Linked DNA regions of Homo sapiens: all the other regions are linked to region 1. The links are contacts of gene promoters, found by promoter capture Hi-C in human tissues and cell types (Jung and others, 2019). All regions are on one chromosome and are shown on one strand. Each heading gives the region's core, a stretch centred on a gene start or on the middle of the fragment in contact. The rest is flanking DNA. Distances are from core to core; before and after follow the strand shown.

Evidence for each region. The method cuts DNA at HindIII sites, captures the fragments that hold promoters and counts their contacts. A contact is called where the count stands out against the background at its distance.
Region 2: a fragment that was not itself captured here is called in contact with the fragment with the promoter of SARDH in region 1 in 8 of the 25 tissues and cell types used here (adrenal gland, bladder, dorsolateral prefrontal cortex and 5 more).
Region 3: a fragment that was not itself captured here is called in contact with the fragment with the promoter of SARDH in region 1 in 2 of the 25 tissues and cell types used here (lymphoblastoid cells and spleen).
Region 4: a fragment that was not itself captured here is called in contact with the fragment with the promoter of SARDH in region 1 in 1 of the 25 tissues and cell types used here (H1 embryonic stem cells).
Region 5: the fragment with the promoter of CACFD1 here is called in contact with the fragment with the promoter of SARDH in region 1 in 6 of the 25 tissues and cell types used here (IMR-90 fibroblasts, heart left ventricle, mesenchymal stem cells and 3 more).

Annotation. Positions count from the first base shown.
Region 1 is chr9:133,736,617-133,739,905 of GRCh38, reverse strand. SARDH (sarcosine dehydrogenase) reads left to right here and starts at 1,554. Exons shown (of 21, transcript NM_001134707.2): 1 at 1,554-1,652. The HindIII fragment of the contact is 19,009 bases long and covers 1-3,289 here.
Region 2 is chr9:133,369,248-133,372,536 of GRCh38, reverse strand. The region is part of intron 1 of SURF4 (surfeit 4); the gene reads left to right. Among named protein-coding and RNA genes, the nearest start is that of SURF4, 5.2 kb to the left of the region's middle. The HindIII fragment of the contact is 5,558 bases long and covers 1-3,289 here.
Region 3 is chr9:134,095,352-134,098,640 of GRCh38, reverse strand. No RefSeq gene overlaps it. Among named protein-coding and RNA genes, the nearest start is that of BRD3, 29 kb to the right of the region's middle. The HindIII fragment of the contact is 7,601 bases long and covers 1-3,289 here.
Region 4 is chr9:134,053,579-134,056,867 of GRCh38, reverse strand. BRD3 (bromodomain containing 3) reads left to right here. Exons shown (of 12, transcript NM_007371.4): 2 at 3,278-3,289. LOC100130548 (a long non-coding RNA gene) reads right to left here and starts at 2,578. Exons shown (of 3, transcript NR_135126.1): 1 at 2,376-2,578; 2 at 154-218. The HindIII fragment of the contact is 7,733 bases long and covers 1-3,289 here.
Region 5 is chr9:133,458,319-133,461,607 of GRCh38, reverse strand. It overlaps CACFD1 (calcium channel flower domain containing 1), which reads right to left and starts at 1,630. Exons shown (of 5, transcript NM_017586.5): 1 at 1,421-1,630. The coding sequence starts at 1,541. It overlaps ADAMTS13 (ADAM metallopeptidase with thrombospondin type 1 motif 13), which reads right to left. Exons shown (of 29, transcript NM_139027.6): 29 at 2,222-2,634. The coding sequence ends at 2,428. RefSeq lists silencers at 1,115-1,414, 1,705-1,804, 1,815-2,034. The HindIII fragment of the contact is 20,945 bases long and covers 1-3,289 here.

The DNA of each region.
Region 1 (3,289 bases), core at 305-2,804:
GCCACTGCCCTGGAGCTGTGGTGACTGCTGCGTTTTTCTCCCATGCACTTGCACGTCCAGGACTCCTGGGAGAACTTGGGCCACACTCCTTCCTTGCCCTCTTGAGCTCATTCGTCACCCTGTTGGGTGAGCACAGCCCTAGCTCAGGCCACTGGGCAAGCCACACCATCCAAAGAGGAGGTCCTCTGCCCCAGGACCCCCACACCACCCCAGGTAAGCCTCAAACTGGCGGGGCCAGCTTTCCACTGGGCAGCCAGGGGCCTAAGCCAGTGGGCCCTTTGCCTTTGAGGCAGGGACTGAGAATGGTGTCAGCACGTGGTCAGGCCCAGAGCCCAGGCCCCCTCCTCTAAGAGGTCCTCCTGGATTCCCTGCTGGAAGGAAGCCAGCCTTGTGGTGTCGTGTCTCTCCCTGGATCTGTCTGCTTCGTGGACCCTGAGCCCCTCGAGGGCAGGGGCTGGGTCTTAGATGTCACTATAGGTTTCCCAGCAGTGCTTTGTACACATTGGGCATTCAGTAAATGTAGAGGATAGACAAGCTGGCAACAAGACAGTCGGACATCCTCGGTGTGAATAAGAACACAATGATTTGATTGGTATTAATTACAGCAGTTTACTATACGATCGCTTCCGGTATTGGCAGCTGGCATCATTACAATATTAACAGACTGCCATTGAAATGCCCCGTCTTTGATCCAGCGCGAGGAGGAGATGTGACTTTCCATCAGCACCTGTTCTGATTCTTTGGGCATCCAGAGGTGTATTCTTTCTGGGTTTCCTCCACACCCCTCCTCTGGGTGTCTACTTCTGTCTGGGAAGGGGTAACTTGCCCCAGCCCAGAGTCAGGCTGCAGCATCCGGTCTGCCTCCTCCACCAGCTTGCTGTGTGGCCCCCTCCCTGGGCACTGCTGTCCCCAACAGTCAATGGAGGCTGGAATCCCTGCCCTGGGGGCTACGTGCTGTGCAGTAGCCAGTGGCTTGGGGGCATCTCCCCAAACACCAGAGGGGTCTGGGAGCTCGGGAAAGCAGGACGCAGACAGACCAGGAGACCCTGTCCCTGGGAAGCTGACCCAGGCCTTCTCACTCGCCTCTGAAGGCAGTGAGCATCCTGTCCCTGGGGGTGAGCAAACTGGGGCATGTGCTGAGATGACCTCACCAAAGGAGCCTCCCTGCAGTGGACGGGCCCCTGGCCCAAGCTGCTGCTGACCCCACCTTTCCTGCCCACCCTGCCTGTGCATAGCTCCTTCTGGGCGCGGGGAGCTCGGGCGGCTCCAGCAGGCAGGTGGTGCCTGGGTCTACTGCAGCAACCCTGAGGCGCCTGTTTCAGAGACGAGGAAATGAGGGTTGGAGCGGAAGGGTGACTGCCAGGTCGCCTACGGGTAATGGGGCATGGGGTTCACAACCCTGCTCTGCCGCCCTCAGAGGGAGCTGCCCACAGGGCTGGCCTAGAAGCCCCAACTAAGCTGGCCTAGAAGCCGCAGTGGTGGGCGGTACGCTCCGCCCAGATCCTGGGCGGAGACATGGGGCTGGCAGCGAGGGTGGGGGGCGGGGGAGGCCTGGAGTTCCGGCCAGGCCACTGCTTGGGAAGCAAGAAGGTGAAGGCACCTCTGCTGGGCCAAGCACTCTTAGGGCCGAGGGGCACTGCAGCTGACAAGAGGTACTTGGAGGTACACCCCCAGGGAGGGACGAGGCTGGGGCCTCCCCTATGTGGGCGGGGCTGGGCCTGGTCAGATCTGGCTGGGATCTCCCTCTGCCTCTGGCTGCAGGGACCATCCAGCTGCATGAGCAGGACCAGGGTTCACCATATGGGCAGCTGCCTCCCCGCCCCCTGCCGCTCCTCCCCACAAGTCTGCCTACCCTCACCAGGCGAAGGTGCCAGGCGCTCTCCTCGCTTGACCCCCACCACCCCCTGAGCCTGGGAGGAGGAGGGCGTTCCTGGGTCCTCTGCTTTGCAGTGAGGTTAAGTTGTTGCTCGAGGCCCCAGTCCTGTGACAAAACCCCCACCCATCTGTCTGATCCCAAGCCCAGGGCTGTCCTCAGCCCTCACTCCTGGGAAGCTGACTCAGGTACGAGACAGAGTTGGAGGGGGCAAGAGAGTGGGTTAATGTGGAGGCAGCTGTTTCCAGGGAGGTGGCAGGCAGGAGGGGCTCTGGGCTGTCCCCGCTGGGGCCGCTGCCAGCCCCCAGTCTGACAGTCAGAAGAGCCCTGACTGACCAGGCAGGTGGTGAAGGGGCACGTGGCAGCCTCCGGCGCCAGCAGCTGTCGCTTTTTGGGCACAGTCGGAAGGAGGAGGGAGGCTTTTGCCCACAGCTGACCAGGTGTGCTGTGCCATGCGGCACCGTGGTGGGTGGTGGGTGGTGGGGTGGGGGTGTTCAGCCTTGGAGGGCCTTCCTCGGTGCCACTCAAGCTGGCTTTCCCCTGGTGGGGCACCACTTTTGGGGGCTCCTGGAAGACTGTGGACCTTCAAGGACTGAAGGTATGTACAGACACATGCAGGAGGCATGCCTCCTTGTCCGGGGCCACCTCTGCAGGCAGGAGCCAGGCGGGCTGACACACTGAGGGCTGAGAGGCTGAGGACAAGCTCCAACACCTCCTCACTCCCCTACGCCGCTGCAATCAGACTCCCTGCTCCCTCCCTTGGGATGGGGCACTGGGGCAGGAGATGGGGGGCAGCCCTGACCAGCCTGAGAGCTGGGATCCCCCTCACATCCCCCACTGTGCCTAGGACAGGGTTCTGGGCTTCGTCAGGGCTTGGGCAGTGCCCACAGTTCAGGTGGGACAGAGTGTGGCAGTGGGTCCTGAGTCCCCCTGGGATGGTCAGAAGAGGGGGCAGGAGAGAGTCCCTGGCACTGCCACATGGAGGCCCTATGACCCTGGTCACCTCAGGGAGCCTCTCCGTGTGTCAGACTCCCCCGCTGTGAAGTAGAGACATTATCATGTGTCTATAGGTGTTCAATGAGAGTGAACGAACGTGCATAGCTATGGTCCACTCTTGAAAAAGGATGCTGACTTTCTTAGATAATTATATCAGTCATTCATACTGACGTAGGTGGCACAGCACTTCACATCTTGGATCACAGCCACATCCCTTTCACTTTTCCTGCAGATCCCAGAAAAGGGCAGTGGAGGTCCACACTGGGCAGGACACCACCCCACCCTTCCATTGAGGGCTGTTGTGAGACCTCCGTTCTTAACTTCTTAGTTTAAAGAATTTAGGCTGGGCACAGTGGCTCATGCCTGTAATCCCAGCACTTTGGGAGGCCGAGGCAGGCGGATCACCTGAGGTCAGGAGTT
Region 2 (3,289 bases), core at 227-2,726, 370 kb after region 1:
ATTAAGTCTTTCACTGGGCCGGGTCCATGATAGACATTCCTTTTGTGAACTTCTTGACTGTAGGAGGTTGGCCAGAGCGTCACCATCTTCAGATGGGCAGAGGGAGGTTGGCTGGCCGCACTGGCTTGTGGTGGCCTGGAGACTGAGTCCGCATCCTGTTACCCCAAAGGCTGGGTTCCTCACTGCTTGGTTGACTGATCTTTCCTTCTGGCCTGCAGAGGCTGGTCCACGGGGACGAGCAGTCTGGTTAGTTTCTGCTGGCAGGCTCCCCACAGTTGCATCTCTTGTCTCTCTGCCTCTGGCATCAAGCTGCTTGCTCTGGCAGCCAGGGACAGTGTCCTCTTGCTCCCAGGAGCCATGCTCTGTAGAAACTGCTGAGACGTGCTCTATGCAGGAGCTTGGCATTTGGAAGCCATGGGAAGGGTCCAGAAACTAATGAACTCAGCAATCCAAACTAATGTCCATGCCTGCAGCTGCTCCTCATTGCCTATTAGACACTCTGTAAAATGTAGCTTCTAAGCAGTTTATACCCATAAACAGCAATATTAGCACTTAATGGGTTCTGCCTGGTGGCTCATCACCAAGGTGACAGAAAAGCTGCATGGGGCCTTCCTCTCCAGTGTGACCTTTGGTGTTTTTAACCTGTCCTCAAGAGTGGCAGAGCTAGTCCTGGGCCCTAGGAGCTGGCCTCGGCCCTAGTTGAAGTGCTGGGGAAGCAAGGATAGGCCTGAGGACCCCTGAACTTGCAGGTGGCACAGGCACTGTGAGGGTCCCGATGAACACCATGCTGGTGACTGGTGTGGCAAAGTCCTGGTGACAGTGGCAGGCTCTGTCATACCCTGCCCTATATCATGAAGGAGTGGGGAGAGAAGGCAAAGAGGAGCTGACTCACTTTTCTTTGTGTGATGATCTTAACGGGAGGTTAAAACTCACTCTTCAGGGGAGTGCGGGCGAGGAGCAGAGGAGGTTGTGGTTAGCGGGGCTCCTCCCAGAACATGGGGCCCAGTCGTTCTCAGTTACGTCTTTCCTATAGTTGGGATTTTGATCACACAGTTTTTTAGTAAAGCCAGGCCATCATCTCCCACATTGGGCTGGCGACATCCTTTCTGGCCCTGCAGGGTGCAGTGTGAACCTATAGAGCAGCATGGGAGCGGGGCTCGGGGAAGTTCTGGAGCTGCAGTGAGCCAGTGAGCTCGAGCCAGCTCTGACAGGCTGATGTGAGGGAAGCCGCTGGGCCGCAGGTGCTTGTTTCTAGGATGTGTGGGACCTGAGTTGGGCTTTGAACAAGGCAGCCCCAGTCCTTGGTGATCAAGGAAATCTGACCTGCCTTTTTCGTCGATGTTCACATTCACCACGAATTTGCAAGCTGCTTTCCTCAATTTCTTTCTGTCCTGAGTGTGAAGAGAAAGTGGAGTTTTCTGTGTGGCGTGGGAGCTGCAGGTGGCTGTGACAGTGATCACTGGATGCCCAGGAAGTCATCTCAGGGTGGATATAATTAATTACGTTTCTAAAATCCCCTTCAGTCGTCTAAAATAACCACCCCTTTGAGAGAAATATCAGTCTTCCTGTTAAGCCCCTCAGATGCTGTCACTGCTTATGAACCATATCCTGCTTGATGGCGCGGTTCTCGGAGAGACTTAATGAGAAGCTTGGCCACAGAGGTGAGCTAACTGTCATCTTCTTCCTGCAGCCTGCCAGGTCAACAGCCACCTCTGGCTCTGCTGTCGCAGTTCTCTAATGGGGGGGAGGGGGACTGTCACAAGTTTTATGTGCTCGCCGTGTTTACACAGGTCACCTGTGTGCTGGCTACCAGCAATGGCCTTAGTGCCTGCAGTGCGGCTGCTCTTGTCTGTCCTGGGGTGCTGTGTGTCCTGCCTGTGTTGAGGGCTCTTCTCTGCTGTGCTGAGGGGACACTGGCTCTGGGACGTGTTCTAGAGTGGCATGACATGGTTCCAGTGGCCAAGTTGAAGTAGTTGTGACCAACATGCATGTAGGAAATAAGGTTAATGTTGGGCCTTGTCTTTAAACGTGGCTTTTTCAGTGTTCAGTCCAAACAGATGCTCATTAAATGGTGGCCAGTTTAGAGGAGACTGCATCAGCCTGACTTCAGCCTTCAGTGTGGACCAGGCTTGCCTTTGAAAACCAGGACAGCCAAGCAGTAGGTGTGCTCAGTTCAGAAGGCAGTACCTAGATTTTTGCATATTTTTCCCCAAAGCCAAGAGCTGTGTCTGTTTCGTCACCATGTTTGCGCAGGGAAGGAGGTGTGAATTGCCTGTCCCACCTTCTCTCTCTTTTTTGCTCTTTAATCCTCTTGACCCAGACACTCAAATTAAGAGTCGCAGACTCATTCAAAGAGACTTTTAAACACTGCCTCAATCTCGTGGGCTGTGCACGTAGATGAGCATGTTAAATGCAGGTCCTGCAACTGGGGGAGGCTTAGACCGCAGCCCATGGCTGGGCTGGTTTGCTCATCTCAGGCCAGTGAGTGGCTCACAGCTCTCATTTTAGAAGCAAGTCAGAACACCTCTGGTGTCTGTCTTGGGTATGGATTGCAGTCTACCTCTCTGCTGCTGTTGGGGTCCACGCCCCACACCCACACCCTGCCCTGGGAGTCCCACCACGGCTCCGTCTCATCTCAGAGGTCTGGACAGCCTCCTGTTGAGCTCTTCCTTCCCAGTGGTTGCTTTTCCCCAGGTTCAGATGAGATAAAGGCTTGTGTCCTTGCTGGGGCTTCCCAGCTGGGCCACGATGTGAGGCCATTCCTTGAGAGCAGTGGCACATCGTGTGCCACGGTGGTGTGCTTTCTCTCTTCCATGGAATATGGGTGATTACACTGTTGCTGGGCATTTAGAGAGCAACGGGGCCATGAGGCAGAACCTGGGGAGGGTGTGTGGCGTCACCTTTCCCACCACCCAGTGTGATGCAGGTTGCGTCACACTGTGCACATGGGCATCTTGTGCTGGTTCTCTGCATTGGCCCTAAAATTCACAGGGGAGTATTTGGGGCCTTTTTAAAAATAAAAAGTGAAACAAGGTCTTCCTCCTAGTAAAGTTGGAAAGCATCTTACCAACCATTAGTTCAGGTGGCCTCACTCTACTGCAGGATAGTAGAGACACTCTCAAAAAAGTAACTGGGCGTGTCCAGGTCACACGGTGTGCTGGCTGGATGGTACCAGGGCAGGATGAGATCACAGGGCCTCAGAACCTCCACCTGCACTTCATCTCCCAAACCCACTTGGTGATTCTCTGGGTATCTGTCGGTCACTGTGATTTCTCCCATCACTTCCGTG
Region 3 (3,289 bases), core at 268-2,767, 360 kb before region 1:
GTCTCGCTCTTGTCACCCAGGCTGGAATGCAATGGCATGATTTCAGCTCACTGTAACCTCCGCCTCCCAGGTTCAAGTGATTCTCCTGCCTCAGCCACCCGAGTAGCTGGGATTATAGGCATGTGCCACCATGCCCGACTAATTTTGTATTTTTAGTAGAGATGGGGGTTTCGCCATGTTGACCAAGCTGGTCTCAAACTCTTGACCTCAAGCGATCCACCCACCATGTCCTCCCAAAGTGTTGGGATTACAGGCGTGAGCCACCGCACCCGGCCATAATTAATACTTAAATATAGACTATTTAAAGCGCAGGCTGGGCACAGTGACTTACATCTGTAATCTTAGAGCTTTGGGAAGCTGAGACGGGAGGATTTCTTGAGCCCAGGAGTTTGAGGCTACAGTGAGCTATAATGGCACCGCTGCACTCCAGTCTGGGTAACAAAGTGCGACCCTGTTTGTAATCATAATAATAATGTGCACCATGTAACGTTGTGAAATGCTTACAACAGTCAAACAAATGAGCATGTCCATCGTCTCACATAGTTGCCCCCTCTGTGTGCGTGCTGAGAGCCCCTAAAATCTACTCTCAGTAAGTTTTCGGTATACAATACATTATTATTGATGACTATAGTCCTCACGCTGGACTTTAGATCTTTAGACTCATTCATCCTGTGTAACTTTAACTTTGTACCCTTTGGCCTCCATCTCAATCTCCACCACCTGCAAGCCCCTGTAACCACTGTTCTACTGTTTCTATGTATTTGACACCTTTTTTTTTTTTTTTTGAGATGGAGTCTCGCTCTGTTGCCCAGTCTAGAGTGCAGTGGCTCGATCTCGGCTCACTGCAACCACTGCCTCCCAGGTTCACCCCATCCTCCTGCCTCAGCCTCCCGAGTAGCTGGGACTACAGGCTCCCGCCACCATGCCCAGCTAATTTTTTTTTTTGAATTTTTAGTGGAGATGCCGTTTCACCTGTTAGCCAGGATGGTCTTGATCTCCTGATCTCGTGATCCGCCTGCCTCGGCCTCCCAAAATGCTGGGATTACAGGCGTGAACCACCGTGCCCGGCCGTATTTGACACTTTTAAAAAATATTTTGGCCAGGTGCTGTGGCTCATGCCTGTAATCCCAACACTTCGGAAGGCCGAGGCGGGTGGATCACTTGAGGTCAGGAGTTCAAGACCAGGCTGGCCAACGTGGTGAAACACTGTCTCTAGTAAAATACAAAAATTAGCCAGGCGTGGTGGCACGCACCTGTAATCCCAGCTACTCAAGAGGCTGAGGCAGGAGAGTCACTTGAACCCAGGAAGGGAGGTGGAGGTTGCAGTGAGCAAAGATACCACCACTGCACTGCACTCCAACCTGGGCAACAGAGTGAGGCTCCATCCCCACCCCCACCCGCAAAAAAAAATTTCATATATACATGAGATCATGCAGTACTTTTCCTTCTATGTTTGGCTTATTTCATTTAGCATAATGTCTTCAGGTTCATCTATGTTGTCGCATAGGCAGGATCTCCTTTTTTTTTGAGTCAGAGTTTCACTCTTGTTGCCCAGGCTAGAGTGCAATGGCATGATCTTGGCTCACTGCAGCCTCTGCCTCCTGGATTCAAGCGATTCTCCTGCCTCAGCCTCCTGAGTAGGTGGGATTACAGGCATCCGCAACCACGCCTGGCTAATTTTTTGTATTTTTAGTGGAGACAGGGTTTCTCCATGTTGGCCAGGCTGGTCTTGAACTCCTGGCCTCAGGTGATCTGCCCGCCTTGGCTTCCCAAAGTGCTGGGATTACAGGTGTGAGCCACCGTGCCCAGCCAGAATCTCCTTTTGAAGAGCTGGAAATATTCCATTGCATGTGTAGACCACAGTTTCCTTATCTAGGCCTCTGTCAGTGGACACTTAGGTGGATTCCATGCCTTGGCTATTGCGAATAGTGCCGCATTGAACATGGGAGTGCGGGTATCTCTATGAAGTGCTTATATTTCATCTCCTTTGGCTATATTCCCAGAAGAGAGATTGCTGGATCATATGGTGGTTCTACCTTTAGTTTTTTGAAGGGCCTCCATACTGTTTTCCATAATGATGGTACCGATCTACATACCCATCAACAGTGTACAAATGTACCTTTCACCACAGCCTTGCTCACATTTATCCCTTGTCTTTTGGTTACAGCCATCCTAACGTGTGAAGTGATATCTCATTGTGGTTTTAATTTGCTGCCATGGTCAGTTCGCACTGCTATTACAAAATATCTTAGACTGGGTACTTTATAAACAACAGAAACTGATTGCTCACAGTTCTGGAGGCTGGGTAGTCCAAGATCAAGGCACCAGCTAACTGAGGATCTGCTAAGTGTCCATTCCTCAGATGGCACCTTCTTTGTGCTCTCACATGGTGAAAGGGGTGAACAAGCTCTCTCATGCCTCTCTTACAAGGGCATTAATCCCCTTTAAGAGGGCAGAGTCCTTACGATCTGATCACCCCCAAAGGCCCTACTTTTTTTTTTGTATGGATGGACTCTCTCTCTGTCACCCAGGCTGGATTGCGATGGCACGATCTTGGCTCACTGCAACCTCCACCTCCCAGGCTCACGCAATTCTTCTTCTTCAGCCTCACAGGCAGCTGGGATTACAGGGGCGCACCACCACGCTTGGCTAATTTTTGTATTTTTAGTAGAGATGGGGTTTCAGCATATTGGCCAGGCTGGTCTCGAACTCCTGACTTCGTGACCTGCCCACCTTGGCCTCCCAAAGTGCTGGGAATACAGGCGTGAGCCACTGCACCCAGCCGGCCCCACTTCTTAATGCCATCGTCTTGGGGATTGGGTTTCAACCTATGAATTTTGGGGAAACACAAACATTCAGACCCTGGCGTTTGCATTTCTGCATTTCTGTCATCATTGGTGATGTTGGGCACCTTTTCATAGACCAGTTGGCCATTGTGTGTGTGTGTACACCTTTAGTCTTATTGTAACAAAGCAACTTGTACACATTTTCCTTTTTAATTTAGATATTGGGTCTCGCTTTGTCACCAAGGCTGGAGTGCAGTGGCACAATCATTGCTTACTGCAGCCTTGAGCTCCTGGGCTCAAGTGAACCTCCCAACCTCAGCCTCCTGAGTAGCTGGGACTACAGGCACATACCACCATACCTGGTTAGTTTTTTACATTTATTTTTTGCAGAGATGGGGTCTCACTATGTTGCCCAGGCTGGTCTCAAACTCCTAGACTCAAGCAATCCTCCTGCCTTGGCTTCCCAAAGTGCAGGGATAACAGGTGTGAGCCACCATGCCCAG
Region 4 (3,289 bases), core at 591-3,090, 320 kb before region 1:
CGGGACCAGCCCTCGGCCCCAGAGGGGATGACATGGTGTGAATGTGCTGTGGACGGGGACCTGAGGCACTGAGCCCGTCTCAGCCCTCCCTCCCCACTGGGACTCTGGGAACTGCACATTCTCCCACAGGGAGGGGTCACCCCGGGCTCTCACCTGACTGTCGCCTCCTGGTCTCCTCCTGCCCGGCGTGGTCCTTGCCAGGTGGTGGGTCCCAGTACCTGGTAGCGGAGGGGGCTTGAGGGGGATGCCACCCCTTTGCCCTCTGGCTGCCCTCCCTCCCTGCCCCTCCCACTGGCTGGTGCCAGGCTGCCTGGGGGCTCCGCTTCTATGCCAAGGGCTTCTGGGGGAGGCAGGGCCACTTATCATGGCATCGTGTTGTCCTCGAGTTTTTGCAAAATCTGAGTGTGTGGGGTGTAGGTGTCTCAGAGGGCAGGGTTTGTGTTCCAGGAGAGGAGAGGTGAGATCACCATGCCTCACCACCGAGGGTGGGGCAGTCGCCTGCCCGTGTGTGCCAGGGGCTTTTTATACTGCACCCCTCAGCCTTCCAGGTCTTGTTGGGGTTGGTGTGTTTCTGCCAGGTAGCGGAGCTGGAGGCAAACTGCACCCTCAGGGCCTGTAGTGACCACTGGCATTCAGTGAGCACATGCTGGCACCAGGTGCAGCCCCAGAGCTTTAACCACATTGGCCGGGATTTCCCTGGCAGCAGCAAGAGGGCTTCTGGGCTGGGCCTTGGACGGCTCTGCCGTGGCTCGTGGGCTGGTGCCAAGCAGAGCCTGGGGCGCCCCTCCTTCTGCCTTGCTCAAGCTCACAGTCCATGGCCGGGCGGGGCTGCCCTCCCCACCCAGGACGAGGCATGCACTCCGGTGTCCATGGCTGGAGCTGGGCTCCTTCTCAGTCTCCGGTTTGAAACAGTGGTCAGGTGGTTGGAAGTGGGTGGCTTAGAGGGCCTGATCTGGCCAGGCGTGGGATCCTGACGGCAGCATAAGCAGGCCCCCATGTTGAGCTGTGACCGTCCATCCTCATGCTTGGAGGAAGCTGGCCTGCAGCCTGGGAGCCTTCCTTTGTGCCCTGACCACCCCCACATCCCCAAAGGTCAGTTTCAGCCCCATTTCCTGGCTCTGGGCCTGTGCAGCAGCAGTGGATACTGGGAATGTCCCCACCTGACCGACACCTGGGAGCTGACATCTGGGCCCTGGGAGGCAGCAGCAGCACAGCCTGGGCCTTCTGTCAGGGTGCTGCCCGGCAGTCTCAGCGGAGCTGCGTGTGGTGCTTGGTGCCCATAACTGGCGTGAGCTCTCTCTGTGCCTGACTCCTCCACCCTCAGGAGCCTCGTGGGGAAGTGGAAGGACCAGGCCGTGTGGCTGGCCCCAGTGTCTGTGCTGCCTGGGGGCCCAGCAGGAAGGGTGTTCTGGGAGCTACCTGGAGGCCTTGGAAGGGCAGGAGCCTGCTGCTGTCCAGGCCTTGAGGGAGGGCCGCAAGTCACAGGAGACAGGACACAGGTCTCAGGACTCGGTCACCCCAGGCCCCACCAACCAGGGTGGGGCAGGACTCGCTTTCACTCTGAGTCACGTGGAGCCCCTGGGAGGTTTTGAGCAGACCGGTGACTTGATCCGACTTGGTTTTAACAGGATCACCCTGCGGTGCGGGCTAGGCGGTCCTTGCGGGGCAGAGCAGGGAGCCCTGCTGGGAGGGCTTCATGGAAATCCTTGCAAGTGGTGGTGGCGAGGGGCAGTGCTGCCACGCTTTGGCCTGGGGCTGCCCTCCGCACCAGGGTTGCAGCCTGGGGCTGTGAGCACCGGGTCGGTGAGGTGGAGAGGCACCCGCTCACCTCAGGAGGGCATAGAAGAGGGTGGGTGTGAGGGGCTTCCCTGGATGAGGCCCTGGCACAGGTGGGCGCCCCAGAGACGGGGCACGTTCTCTCGTGCTGGCATGCTTGGTGGGTGAGCTGTGTTGCGTGTAGTTTGAAGCCCTTTCCTCTCTGGGGTGGGGTGGGAGGAAGTGAGGTTACACGCAGGGTGCTGACGACATTGAGCATCCAGCTTGGGGAGGGGGTCCTGGTTTGCAGCATTTGCCCATGGCTGTGGTGTAACTGCCCACCGAGGCAGATTTCAGGGGACCAACCAGATGTCACCCAGCTCACAAACTTCCCCTAGTCTTGACTGTCTGCCCCGAGCGTCTACAAGTGGCCGGTTCTGGGGCCGGAGCCGGCTCCTCCCATGGCAGAGCTGCTGCCTGTGCTCCGAGGGGAGCCTCCAGCCGTGACCTGTCTAACTGTCAGTTACACGACTGCAGGAAAGGCCCAAGTGGCAGCAAGGTACGAGGCTGAAGTTGAAGTCCCAGGCGCTGGGTTAGAGCTCCTCGGGTCTGCCCCACACCTTTACAGGTAGACACGGGGCCACGCCGCAGGGCCCTGGCCATGGTTGGAGGCCTGCATGCGTTCTCCACTGTGCAGCGTTCCTATGGGCGTTCTCAACTGTCCGTGCCCTCCTGGGACACGCAGGGTGGCGGTGGCCTCCTCCTGCCAGCCCTGCCTGTGGCTAGCCAGTCGGGGCCAGGGAAGCCCCAGCATCTCGTGTGTGCAGAGCTCCCTGTGGTCAGCTGGGGTGTGGAGGTCGGCAGGGTCTGAGCCGCCGCTCCCGCCTCTCTGATTGGCCGAGAGCCAGGCCGGGTCACAACCACGCCGCCATCACAAACCTGGGCCCGTTCTCCTGGTTACGGTAGAACCTCACTGCTTGGCCTCGCTCAAGGGCACCACCTCCCCGCACCGTGTTTGGGTCTGCAAACGTCCGTGTTGTGCCGGCCCCACTTCCCCTGGCTGTGTTGGGCCCGCACCGTGGCTGTCCACGCATGGGTCACTCTTCAGTACATTGTTGTGGCCAAGCTGTCAGAGCCCAGTAGCAACGAGTCGACCCCACGAGTGGGTGGTTGGTGGGCAGAAGGCTGCCAGTGGCTGAGTCCCTTGGCACACCTGCCTCCCAGTGTGTTCCCCAAGCCCCCACCTGGGAGCAAGTGGCATGTGCCTGAGCTCCCTCCACCGCCCAGGCCTTCCCTCCCGTGCCTGAGAGCAGTGGTTGGAGAGTCGTTCTGAGCTGGTCGCGCTTCGCCTGAGCAGCTTTCCCGACAGCCTCTCACCTGGGTGGCTGGGCAATGGGGGTGAGTGAGTGGAGCAGGCCCTGCTGAGGCCCGACAGGTGCCCTCAGGAGCCCGCCGAGGCTGGGAGAGGTGGGGGTCCCCGGGGTGACTGGCCTTCCTCTCTGTTGTGCTTCCTCCTCTGCAGCTGTCGCCTGGT
Region 5 (3,289 bases), core at 381-2,880, 280 kb after region 1:
GGGCCACTGACCAAGAAGGAAGGAGGTGTGGCCTACAGGCCATAGTCAGGACCTTTCCTTTCTCACCACTGACCATGTCACCCCACTGCACTGCCCACCCTAATCTGCAGGGAAAACAGCTAACCAGACATGACAGGACTGGATCCAATGCCTAACTTCAAACCCACCAGTCTCTCCTACAAAGTCAAAAGCGTACTTGCCCTGAAGAGCAGTGACACAAACTCGGGGCCTTTTTGTGATTTGGGGGTAGGGCCTGCCCTACCGTATCCGTTGCCTCTGGATAAGGGCATGCCTAGCGAGGGCAGCACACTCCTAGCCCAGCACCCTCCTGCCTCAACCTCCCTCCACCCTCTACCCACCTGGAAAGGCTGTGGAACCCAAGGTGACCCTGAAAAGGTGGTCCTTCTGGCAGGATTGCTGATGGGGCCTGCCCTGCCCAGGCCCAGAGCTAGCCCTCTCTGCCAGGCAGGCACTGTTTAAAACCTGCAGACATCCTCGACAGACATTCTCTAAGACCTTGCCCACTCCAGTAATCCACAAGATTGAGGGCAGACAGGAAAGGAAAGGGTATCACTCAGACAGACTTGTCTTTCCCTGGAAGGCCAGCTGTACGGCTTCCATTCACTCCTGGAGCTGACCTGCCTCCCTCTTTGTCCTTTTCTGGCTGTGCTTAAGAGCCTAGCTTCCCTGGCAGCCTAAGGTCAGGGTCTGTGACTGGGATGCGTGCGGAGAAGGGGAGGAAGGCCGGTGACAGGCGGCTAAGGCAGCAGCAACGGGGGAGATATGAGAGCGGACAGAGGACCCAGGGAGAGGCCGGGCCCTCAGCTCACTGCCCCGCGGCCCCAGGGGCCACCTGTGCCCTGACACCACCTGACCCTCAGCAAACTTCCGCCCAGTGGCTTCCTGCCAGAAATCTAGCCAGCCGTGCACCCGCCTCCCTTACAAACAATCCTTGCCCAAAGGTTAGCAATGTGGCTGCCGTCACCTACGCCCAAGTCAACAGTTGACGCTTTAGTACGGGCCAGGTGGGCATGCGCCCCGTGAGCATCACCGAGAAAGTCTCACAAAAGCCCCTGGGGAGCGGGGGGAGGGCTCAGTCACGTGCCCCAGGCCGGTGCCCCACCCCCGCCCCCGCCGCCCCCCCGCCCTGGGGTTTCTGGTCCCTCCGGGAATGTTCCCAGAAGCGCCAGCCCAGCCCAGCCCGGGGTACCAAGGCGCCCAGGCCCGAGCGGGTAACCATGGCAACCCCAGGACGCCGGCTCCCGGCGGCCCCGCCATTCCTCCGCCCCGGGAGGCGCCCGGCAGACCCCCGACCCCCAGCGGGTCCTTTCCCCTGGGGCCGCCGGGGCGGGGCGGGGCAGGGCAGGGCGAGGAGCGCATGCGCGGCGGGGCCGGCCCCTCTCCCCGACTGGATACTCACAGACTGCCCCCAGCACCCCAGACAGGCGACACAGCCAGCGGTACCACCACGTCATGCCCTCTTCCTGCGCGGGCGGCGCAGAGCTGGCGGACGCCCCGGGCGCCCCACCTGAGCTGCTCATGGTGCCACCGTCAGGCGCAGCTCACAGCCCTCACAAAGGGCTCGGTAGCCGGCCGCGTCCGAGCCGGCGCGCTGCCTTGTGGGAGAGGGAGCATATTAGCATAGGGGGCGGGGCTTTCAGGCTGCGGCGAGGCGCGCCCGAAGGGAGGCGGGTGCTCATTAACATAGTGAGCGGGACCCTCATGCCGCGACTAGGGGCGTTTGAGGGGAGGTAGGTGCTCATTATTGTAGGGGGCGGGACCCGCAGGCTGCGGCGAGGAGCTGGGGGTGGGGAGCTCGTTAGCATACGGGGCGGGGCTCGCAGGCATCGGAGAGGTGTGCCCGAGGGGGGCGGGCGTCATTAGCGTAGGGGGCGGGGGCTCGCAGTTTGCGGCGACTTGCTCCCAAAGGAGGCGGGCGCTTATTAGCATAGGGGGCGGGGCCTGGAGGCGCGCAGACACCTTAGCGGTCAGAGCCTCACACCAGGACACACGGGTGGGGCTTCGCAGGGAGCTGGCTAATGCGCCATCCTCGGAGTGGAATCCTGATTGGATTTTCTTCCTGGATAGGAAGAAGATAACTAGGGACGTCCAGCGGCTTGCTCAGATCAAGATAGAGCCAACCGCGGCCAGCGAATCCCTGCCTTGCCATGGGATGGGTTTTCAAGCCAGGTCTGGACAGCTTATAAGAAAAAAACGCCGGTCAGCCTGCATGTTTTATTTATTGGTACCCGAGGAAATGGGGGCTGCTTTTCCAGAGTCCCCACCTCCAACCCCCTAGCCTTTTGGACATTGGAGAAGACTCTAAAGTAGATACCTAAGATTGGAAAAAGTTCGAATTGGAAAGCACTGAGACCAGGGGTCAACCCTCCAGGGCTGGCCAGACACGGAACAAATGTTCAATGACCCTCAGGTTCCTTCCTTTCCCTTCCAGGACTGAGGGTCCTGCATCTCCGGTACCCATGATTGGAGGGTCCAGTACTGGCCCCGCAGGCTGGCCTGAGCCTTCAGGAAGCCCTCGCTGAACTCCATCTCAGCCTGGCTGCTCTCTGACTCCCAGTAGAGCACCTGCTGCCCATGGAACGCTGTGGTCCTCAAGCTGTGGGTGTCCCGGATCTGAGAGAAAAGGGGCAGCCCAGAAGGACCGGCCACAAGTAATAATTAGCACTCACGGAAGCCTTCGTGTGCAAGGGCTCACAGATTCCGGATCACATTTAATGCTTACAAAGCCCTACTAGGAATACGCCATTACTCTACCCAGAAAACCGAGGTCCAGGGACGTTACATCACTTCCCCAAGGACACACAGTCAGGGTGCCAGAGCGGGGCCAGGCTGCCTCCTCTGGGGAAGCTGATACCCTGCAGAACACAGTTCTCCCAGGACACTTGAAACCTCGGGGAGGGTGCAGGGTGCTATTCTGTCCAAGTTATATCAGACTGTAAAATTATGCTTCAGTCTTGGGTTAGCTGTCAGTCTACATCAGAAAGGTCTTTACCATTCTTTACCATTTCGCTTTTTTTTTTTTTTTTTTTTTGAGACAGAGTCTCACTCTGTTGCCCAGGCTGGAGTGCAGTGGTGCGATCTGGGCTTAGTGCAACCTCCACCTCCCGGGTTCAAGTGATTCTTGTGCCTCAGCCTCCCAAGTAGCTGGGATTACAGGCACACGCCACCATGCCTGGCTACTTTTTCTATTTTTAGTAGAGACAAGGTTTCATCATGTTGGCCAGGCTGGTCTCGAACTCCTGACCTTGAGTGATCTGCCCTCCTGGGC